3 separate regions of the Homo sapiens genome follow, and all the other regions are linked to region 3. Evidence: promoter capture Hi-C in human tissues and cell types (Jung and others, 2019). All regions are on one chromosome and are shown on one strand. Each heading gives the region's core, a stretch centred on a gene start or on the middle of the fragment in contact. The rest is flanking DNA. Distances are from core to core; before and after follow the strand shown. Region 1 overlaps MYT1 (myelin transcription factor 1). Region 2 overlaps PRPF6 (pre-mRNA processing factor 6). Region 3 holds the start of NPBWR2 (neuropeptides B and W receptor 2).

Region 1 (3,013 bases), core at 65-2,564, 110 kb after region 3:
TGAAGAGAGGTACAACAACCATGTGAGAGCCAGGTGAATACTTTGTGTCCTACCCACATTCAGAAAACCTCTGCACACTGGCTCTTGCTCCTGAGTGGGAAGGGCAGACATGAACAGTAACCTCGGCAGGCCAGGACTGTGCTCTGGGCTGCTTTGTGGGAGTTCTGAGGCCCAGGTGGAAGTGAAGCTTCCCGACCACCCTCGAGGTGTAGTTGTTGACTGGTCTTCTATGGTGAGGGGGGACTACTCCTCCAGCCTTACCCTAAGTGCCATGGGTGGCCGTGGCCTCGGTGGGATATGCTTTCCCCCAGCAGGCTTATGCTCAGCTGAAAGGACTGCCAGAGCTTTTGAGGTCACTTCATTTGAAAAGAGGCCAGTTCCCCATTACGTCACCTCCCTGGGCTGGCTGAGGGACTGGCGCTGGAGCTCACAGTTAACTTTATTCTGACAGATGAAGCTGCTGCCTCCGTGTCTTAGACTGAGTACTTTCCTGGGCCTGTGTCATCCAGGGTCAGTGCCCAGGCTGTGGTCCAAGTGGGGCCCTGGGCTGCCCCAGAGCAGCTAACAGAACAAGCGCCAGAGAGGGCTGCAGAATCCAGCCCTGCAAGCTGGGAAGGGAGAGGAAGGGGGTGAGGGCAAGCCTGTCTCCCAGACCCATGCAGAGGAGGCATCTTTGCCCAGAGCTTTCAAGGCCTTTAGGATATATTTCATCTTTGTGTGTCCTTGGCATAGAATGTTCCAAAACAGAAACTGACTGGGCAGCTTGTACTGTGAGGGCTCAAGAACAGAGCCAGAGAGAAAACCCCTGTCCTGCAGAATGACAGGGTTATTCCCGGCTCTGGGCTTCTCTGGAGTTCACCTGGAGTTCTCACATCTGAATGACCTTGCCGTGAGACACCCACACACACAGACACCCAGGACAGGACAGGCATGGAGGGGAAGGCTCAGAAACCCCTCCTCTTCCTTCCTCTAGTTTGTCTGGGTGTCCCATTGCTGCCGCCGAAAAATTAGCCAAATCCCATGAGAAGCAGCAGCCGCAGACAGGAGATCCTTCCAAGAGTAGCTCCAATTCCGATCGGATCCTCAGGTGAGTGAGATGAGCCACAGAACTGAAGAGGCTGCCTCCCAAATGCCTGCAGAGGGCTTCTCAGTCTCCCGCAGGCTGTATGTGCATGTGTGTGAGTGCATGTGTGTGAGTGTACGTGCATGTGAGTGTACGTGCATGTGAGTGTGCACATGCCCCGGGCCCCCCAGGAGCAGAACTGCGGGGCAGTTTTGGAGCCACACAGGACAGAGTCTCATGTCTACCACATTCGCCAGTGCCTCAGCCAAAGCGCAAACTCCTGCACAGTTGCCTCTGCCTCCGACATGGGGCTCTGCCTCCTTGGAGTCGTCTGATGTGACCACTTGAGGCCCCTTGGGGATTCATTTGTGGAGATGCTGGTCCTGTCTGGAAAGAGCAGACTGCACCAGCCAAGGACCACGGACGTCCAGGAAGCACCATGAGCCACTAATCCTTGGCCGTCCTGCCTGTCCCTCCCCGACCCCAGGGATAGACCCCAAGTCAAGGAAGAGGGTGGGTGCAGGCTTTGCTCCCCAGAGTGCTTTGTGGCCCCTGAGGTTCTGAGATCACAGTAGGTGTGTGTGAACATGTGGGAGCGTGTGTGTGCATGTTCACACGCCTGTTTGTGTTTGCATATGTGCGGGTATGTTTACATGTGCGTGCAAGTCCATGTGTATGTGAACACGTGGGAGCGTGTGTGTGCATGTTCACACGCCTGTTTGTGTTCGCATATGTGCGAGTATGTTTACATGTGCGTGCAAGTCCATGTGTGTGTGCATGTGTAAATTTGGCTCTAATCAATAAGGATCTTTCAGAATGTGTCCCATTAGTGTCCCCTCCTTCCATGTGGCTCTAAGAAGTAAGTGCCACAAATAAGGCCAGAGGCTCAGAGAGTTGCCCAAGGCCACCCTGCCCATCCTGCCTGGCTTCAAAGTCTCTCCTCTATGGAGCTGAGTCCTTGGACCACGGTACCCACTGTCGAAGAGGACACTTCCACTGCTCCTGTCTTCACCTGCAGACACCCTGCTCCCCACTCCCGTGAGGAACTAGAACTCACACACAGCTCCTCCTCCCCAGCTCTCAGACCCCTGTTCCATATCTGTCTCACCAGACAAGAGTGTAGGAGACCCCGGCTGGGGTGAGCGTGAATGACTGCATAGCCCCTTCCACTGTCCGCCTCCTTTCGGGGCCCACCTGACCCCGGCCCTTCCTGGCACATAATTGGCAAAGTTCCAGCCAGATGATCTTCGCTGCTCACCTTGGCTGTGTCATGCCCAGGCCCTTCCCTGGTCTGCTCCAGAGTGTTCCTCTGAAGGTGCAATTCCCACACGTGGGATCTCTGGGCAGAGCACAGAGACTTGCCTTCCTGCTCTGTGGGCATGCTTGCCATCCCACACACAGGCACCTTCAGCCCTGCAGGTCCCAGCAGGCTGCTTTCCACCAGCTGGCTCTCACAATGGTTTGAAGCTGCTTTTTTCCTCTATCTTATTTGCTGTTCCCTCCAGCTTCCTGTCAGTTGCTAATTCAATCCTTTCCCTCTTTGATCTAAATCACCGATAAAATGTCAAACCGCAGATTTGGCCCCCGTGTGAGGCCAGGCAGGGGTGTCAAACAGGCTCCAACTTTGGAGACTGCACTCCCTGGGACTATGACCTCAGTTTGTTCACTTATAAAAGTAGGACAACAAACTAAGTCGCTCATGAGGCTCAAGTGACACTCTGCCGCCCTCAGCCCATGGTGAATACTCACTGAACGCTAGAGAGATTGTGGCTAGGGTGGAGGAGGCCTCCCGTTAGGCCCTTTTGATTCTATCCAGCCCACATTTCTGGCTATCGAACTTTGGGGTGTGAGGACGGGCTTTGCAAAGCTTCGTTGGCATTGTGGACAATAAGTGTACAGATTCTGACTGAAGCCTTGGTCAAGGAAGCCATCAACGGTGGTACCAATGTT
Region 2 (2,965 bases), core at 68-2,567, 110 kb before region 3:
TTTTTATTTTTATTTTTTTGAGACGAAGTTTCACTCTTGTCACCCAGGCTGGAGTGCAATGGCATGATCTTGGCTCCCTGCAACTTCCACCTCCCAGGTTCAAGCAATTCTCCTACCTCAGCCTCCTGAGTAGCTGGGATAACAGGCATGCGCCACCACGCCTGGCTAATTTTCATATTTTTAGTATAGATGGGGTTTTACCACATTGGCCAGGCTTGAACTCCTGACCTCAGGTGATCTGCCCACCTCGGCCTCCCAAAGCGTTGGGATTACAGGTGTAAGCCACCACGCCTGGCCTTCTTAGGTGTTTATGGGATGGTCCTACCTTTGGGATTTTGTGAATTTTCAAGCAGTAAATATACACATGTCCAAATGGAGGTATTTAGATCAAAGTAAGATCTTTTTTTTTTATTTTAATGAATTTCTACATGTTTTTATTTGGTGGATAATTGAATTAGTAGACTTACGAATGTATTTATATTTATTTATTTAGAGGCAGAGTCTCTCTGTGTTGCCCAGGCTGGAGTGCAGTGGTGCGATCTTGGCTCACTGCACCCTCTGCCTCCTGGGTTCAAATGATTCTGCCTCAGCCTCCCAAGTAGCTGTGATTACAGGTGTGTGCTACCATGCCCAGCTAAGAATGTATTCATAGTTACCTTAAAATATATTTGATTTGGGCTGGGTGCGGTGGCTCACACCTGTAATCCCAGCACTTTGGGAGGCCAAGGTGGGTAGATCACAAGGTCAGGAGTTCGAGAACAGCCTGGCCAGGATGGTGAAACCCCGTCTCTACTAAAAACACAAAAATTAGCTGGGAGTGGTGGCGAGCACCTGTAATCCCAGCTACTTGGGAGGCTGAGGCAGGAAAATCACTTAAACCCAGGAGGTGGAGGTTGCAGTGAGCTGAGATTGCGCCACTGCACTTTAGCCTGGGTGACAGAGCAAGACTCCATCTCAAAAAAAAAAATGTGTGTGTGTGTGTGTGTGTGTGTGTGTGTGTGTGTATATGTATATATATATATATATATTTGATTTAGCTACTAAGAGTATGGAATTGTTCTTTTTGGTGATTTAATTGAGATGGATAATAAATTTGCTTCAGAACAGACATGCAGTGTTTCTGATGTGTGCATGTTTTATTTCCTAGGGAGCAAAGGGAGAAAGAAGAAATAGAGAAATATCGTATGGAACGCCCCAAAATCCAACAGCAGTTCTCAGACCTCAAGGTGAGCCGATGAAGCGGTGAATGGTGTGCGGTTTCTAACGCTCTCACCCTAACCCGCAGAGACTCAGACTGCTCTTACGTGGAATTTATGAGACTTTACGTTTTTAATTTAGGGGGTCATTGCTTAGAAGAAGAAAGTGTTTGCTTCAGTATGTTTAATTATATGTGTGTAAAAAAAAACCCTTCCCCTACTGTAAAAGGTAGGACAAATGAACTTATTTTCTTTGTAATTTTGACTCCATTTATACCTAAGATTTTCTTTTTTCTTTTTTCTTTTTTTTTTTGGAGGCAGTCTGGCTCTGTTGCCCTGGCTGGAGTGCAGTGGCGTGGTCTCAGCTCACTGCAACCTTCACCTCCTAGGTTCAAGCAATTCTTGTGCCTCAGCCTCCTAAGTAGCTGGGATTACAGGTGCCTGCCACCATACCCAGCTAATTTTTGTATTTTTAGTAAAGACAGGATTTCGCCATGTGTACCAGGCTGGTCTCAAACTCCTGAACTCTAGTGATCTGCCCACCTCAGCCTCCCAAAGGGCTGGGATTACAGGCGTGAGCCACCACGTCTGGCCCCATTTATACGTAAGATTTTCTAAACTGTGTCCCCTGGGCTTTGAGAGAATAATTTACATTTTAGTGAAGTTGAACAGATCCAATAAATTGATTTTTCTTTTCTTTTTCTTTTTTTTTTTTTTTTGAGACGGAGTTTGGCTCTTGTTGCCCAGGCTGGAGTGCAATGACGCGATCTCAGCTCACCGCAACCTCCGCCTCCCAGGTTCAAACGATTCTCCTGCCTCAGCCTCCCTAGTAGCTGGGATTACAGGCATGTGCCACCATGCCCGGCTAATTTTGTATTTTTAGTAGAGATGGGGTTTCTCCATGTTGGTCAGGCTGGTCTCGAACTCCCGACCTCAGGTGATCTGCCCGCTTTGGCCTCCCAAAGTGCTGGGATTAACAGGCATGAGCCACCGTGCCCGGCCTAAATTGATTTTTCTAAGTGAAGTAGAAAACTATTTTTGGGGCTGGGTACAGTGGCTCACATCTGTAATCTCAGCACTTTGGGAGGCTGAGGTGGGAGGATCACTTGAGCCCAGGAGTTTGAGACCAGCCTTGGGGAGAACCTGTCTTTACAAAAAATAAAAACTTAGCCAGGCATGGTGGCCCACGCTTGTGGTCCCAGCAACTTGAGAAGCTGAAGTGGGAGGATCACTTGAGCCTGGGAGGTTGAGGCTGCAGTGAGCTGTGATTGTGCCACTGAATCCAGCCTGGGCAACAGAATGAGACCCATCTCAAAACAAAAGTAAAAAACAGTTGCTGCATCCAAATCCCTTCTAAAGCTTGGTGATCTGGAGGCTAGGGGTGAGAGAGGGCATGGTCCTACCTGGGCACATGAAATTCTGTCAGAGAATTAATGTTTTTGGGGGCTGGATATTTCCAGAGGAAGTTGGCAGAAGTCACAGAAGAAGAGTGGCTGAGCATCCCCGAGGTTGGCGATGCCAGAAATAAACGTCAGCGGAACCCACGCTATGAGAAGCTGACCCCTGTTCCTGACAGTTTCTTTGCCAAACATTTACAGACCGGAGAGAACCATACCTCAGTGGATCCCCGACAAACTGTGAGCTTCCAAAAAAGGGCACATGTGGCCCATTTAGTCCTGTTAGATCAGTGGCAGGAATGGTGGGTGGTGTTGGATTCAATGCTTCTGCAGGTCATGGCTATGCTGTGGCCGAGTCTGTCTGCACAGCTG
Region 3 (2,895 bases), core at 333-2,832:
GGCCACGACAGAGGCCAGGTGGAAGGGCGTCCAGCAGAGGAGGCACACGGCCAGCACGACGAGGACCAGGACGGTCACCTTCCGCCTGGCCTTGCCTAGAGCCTTGGCTCCAGAGCGGAGCCGCACGGCCCGCAGCCTGCGCAGGAGGTCTGTGTAGAGCACACAGATGGTGCACACGGGCAGCACGAAGCCCAGGACCAACGTGTAGACACGGCTGGCCTTGAACCAGACCTGCTCGGGCCACGGGAAGCTCAGCCCACAGCTTGGGACCTGCAGCTCGTTGCTGTAGACGCCAGCGAAAGAGAAGAAGGGCAGAACCAGGACCGTGACGCCCAGCCAGACACACAGGCTGGCGACCTTCGCCCCCCGGTAGGTGCGCCAGGGCATGTGGCGGGACCTCACGGTGGCCAGCACCACCAGGTATCGGTCCACGCTCATCACGGCTAGGAAGTAGATGCTGGAGAAGATGTTGTAGTGGTCGACGGCCAGCACCAGCTTGCAGAGCAGCTCCCCGAAGGGCCAGTACTGCAGCAGGTGCTCCGCGATGTTGACGGGCAGTACCAGCGTGAAGAGCCCGTCGGCGACGGCCAGGTTCAGGATGAACACGTTGGTCACCGTCTTCATCTTGGGCGCCCTTAGGATTACAAGGATGACGGCCGTGTTGCCAGTCAGCCCCACAGCACAGATCCCGGAGTACACGGCGGGCAGGAGCACATAGAGGAACGGCAGTGGCTCGGAGAAGGTGGCATTGTGGCCAGTGCCATTGTCCTGAGAGACGTTGGCACCCATCGTGGGGAGGGAGAAGGAGCCCCTGCTGTCAAGGGGCTCTGGGTGCCCAGCGGCCTGCATTGTAGCTGGGACCGTTGACGATTTGCGCCCTGGGCAGGTGGGAGGTGCCTTGGAGTTGGGTATCTGGTTGGGGGCCTCCTTGGGCTGGATTCTAGGAAAGAAAAACAACCAGAGACTTTGAGATCCGGCCGTCTGTTAGGGCACAGCCACTCCAGGTTCTCTGGCAGAGACTGCGGCCACTTTGCCAGGTCAAGGACATGGGGCCAGAGGGAGCCTGGTGGGGTGTGTGGGGGCCTCCTCCCGCCTCTTCCTGGTGAGACTTCAGCAGATCAGTTCCCTCCTCCCGCAGAGAGCAGCTGCTGGCCACCCTCCTGGGAAGAGATGTGGATCCGTCCCTGCCCCAGCAACCCGCAGATGCACGGGCTGCGTAGAATCAAGCGGTCCCTTTGGAAACACACCTCCCAAGCTCATCTCTGGCTCCCTTGAATCTGAAGGTCCTTCCCTCAGGGGTCTTGGAGTCTGCACCCTCCCTCACACCCTCCCGAGAGATGCTGCAGACCCTGCTGGTCCAGCTACTCTTCTCTCCACTGACCTGTCCAGTGCTTCGAGTCCAGAAGTTGGTAGCCTTGGTGTGTTCCTGGTTTTGGCCAGTACAGGCAGTCGCAGGGATGGAGGGCGAGGTGTGGTCCTCACTGACAGACCTCCAGCTGAGGTTTCAGGAGTTTCAAGACCTGCCCTGCTGGCTGCCTCAGCCCCGGCTGCGAGGTTCCCAGCCTGGTGTCAGTGCTGATGCTGGTGAGGGAGGGAGGCGGATCCCCCTTGCTGACGTGGAGCCCGGAAGGCAGGCCCCACCTTCCCCTGAGCTGCAGTAGCGCCTGCAGTCGGCTGTCCCAGGGTCTCCTCAGCATTCACTTACCCAGGCAGACTCCTCAGTGGGCGGCTGAGGCACGTGTGCGCCTGTGTGTCAGGAAGGGACTCCATGCAGGGGCCTCTGGGTGTGCCCAGGTCTTCGGGCAGAGGGCACTGAAGGCATCTGTGCCTCTGTCCGGGAGTCACTGTGGGCCTGGGCACCCTTATCTGTGAACATGGGTGTCTTGGTGGGTCTCCTGCCCCACCCTGTGTGTGTACATGGTGTGTTCCTGTGTGTGTGTGCCAGTTAGGACATGTACGTGTGTGGGCCTGTGTCTGCCTGTATGGGGGTCTCTGTGGGTGAGCTCTGCGTTGTATCTGAGTGGGTCTACATGTCCTTGGCTGAGTGTGGGCATCTGGGGGGTCTGTATGCCCTCATGTGGAAGCAGAACTTGTTGGCCATAGGCAACCCACCTTCTTTTTTTGTCTTTTGCTAAAAGAGGAACTCAGCCTAGGCAAGCTGTGAAAGGCTGCAGAGAAGACGTTCTCACGCTGACACGTAACTCTCCCGCCGTCCTGCAGAGGTGGTGAGCATCACACTCTGCTCTGGGTTGGTCTTTAAGTCCTTCCCTTCTCCCTGCTTTTCTTCCTTGCTGGACGCACCCTGGCTTATCCAACCCGTGTGTGTGCAGCTCGGCCGCATCTGGACCTGCTTTGCAGGCAACGCCACAGCTGACACGAGCAGTCGCCAGTCTCAGAGCCGCTCCTCAGCGGAGACGTGTTGGGTCAGAGGGTCTGTGTTTTCTTTCCTTTCTTCTTTTTTGAGACAGGGTCTTGCCCTGTCACCCAGGCTGGGGTGCAGTGGCACTATCATGGCTCACTGCAGCCCTGACCTCCCTGGGCTCAGGTGATCCTCCCACCTCAGCCTCTCAAGTAGCTGGGACTACAGGCATGTGCCACCATGCCTGGCTAATTTTTGTGTTTTTTTTTGTAGAGACGGGGTTTCACCATGTTGCCCAGGCTGGTCTCGATCTCCTGAGCTTCAGCCTCTACCTCAGCCTCCCAAAGTGCTCAGGTTATAGCCATGACCCACCGTGCCTGGTCACTGTGTGTTTTCAGTCTGGGGAGATGTGTCTGCCCATCGAGACTGTGCCCGCTGCCTGTGGGGTTGCAAGGATGTCACCGCACACTCATGGTCGGCCTTCTTTCCTGAGAGTTGCTCTGTCAAGTCTATTGGTTAGGACAGGAGCCTGGGCA

What was found. Contacts are between HindIII fragments. The study calls those that stand out against the background at their distance.
Region 1: a fragment that was not itself captured here is called in contact with the fragment with the promoter of NPBWR2 in region 3 in 5 of the 25 tissues and cell types used here (H1 embryonic stem cells, lymphoblastoid cells, mesendoderm cells and 2 more).
Region 2: a fragment that was not itself captured here is called in contact with the fragment with the promoter of NPBWR2 in region 3 in 2 of the 25 tissues and cell types used here (dorsolateral prefrontal cortex and liver).

Annotation. Positions count from the first base shown.
Region 1 is chr20:64,212,561-64,215,573 of GRCh38, forward strand. It overlaps MYT1 (myelin transcription factor 1), which reads left to right. Exons shown (of 23, transcript NM_004535.3): 10 at 974-1,087. Among named protein-coding and RNA genes, the nearest start is that of PCMTD2, 42 kb to the right of the region's middle. The HindIII fragment of the contact is 3,318 bases long and covers 1-2,973 here.
Region 2 is chr20:63,992,260-63,995,224 of GRCh38, forward strand. PRPF6 (pre-mRNA processing factor 6) reads left to right here. Exons shown (of 21, transcript NM_012469.4): 4 at 1,148-1,226; 5 at 2,657-2,833. Among named protein-coding and RNA genes, the nearest start is that of PRPF6, 13 kb to the left of the region's middle. The HindIII fragment of the contact is 7,819 bases long and covers 1-2,965 here.
Region 3 is chr20:64,105,983-64,108,877 of GRCh38, forward strand. NPBWR2 (neuropeptides B and W receptor 2) reads right to left here and starts at 1,583. Exons shown (of 2, transcript NM_005286.4): 1 at 1,382-1,583; 2 at 1-940. The coding sequence starts at 849. RefSeq lists an enhancer at 1,131-1,631. The HindIII fragment of the contact is 24,186 bases long and covers 1-2,895 here.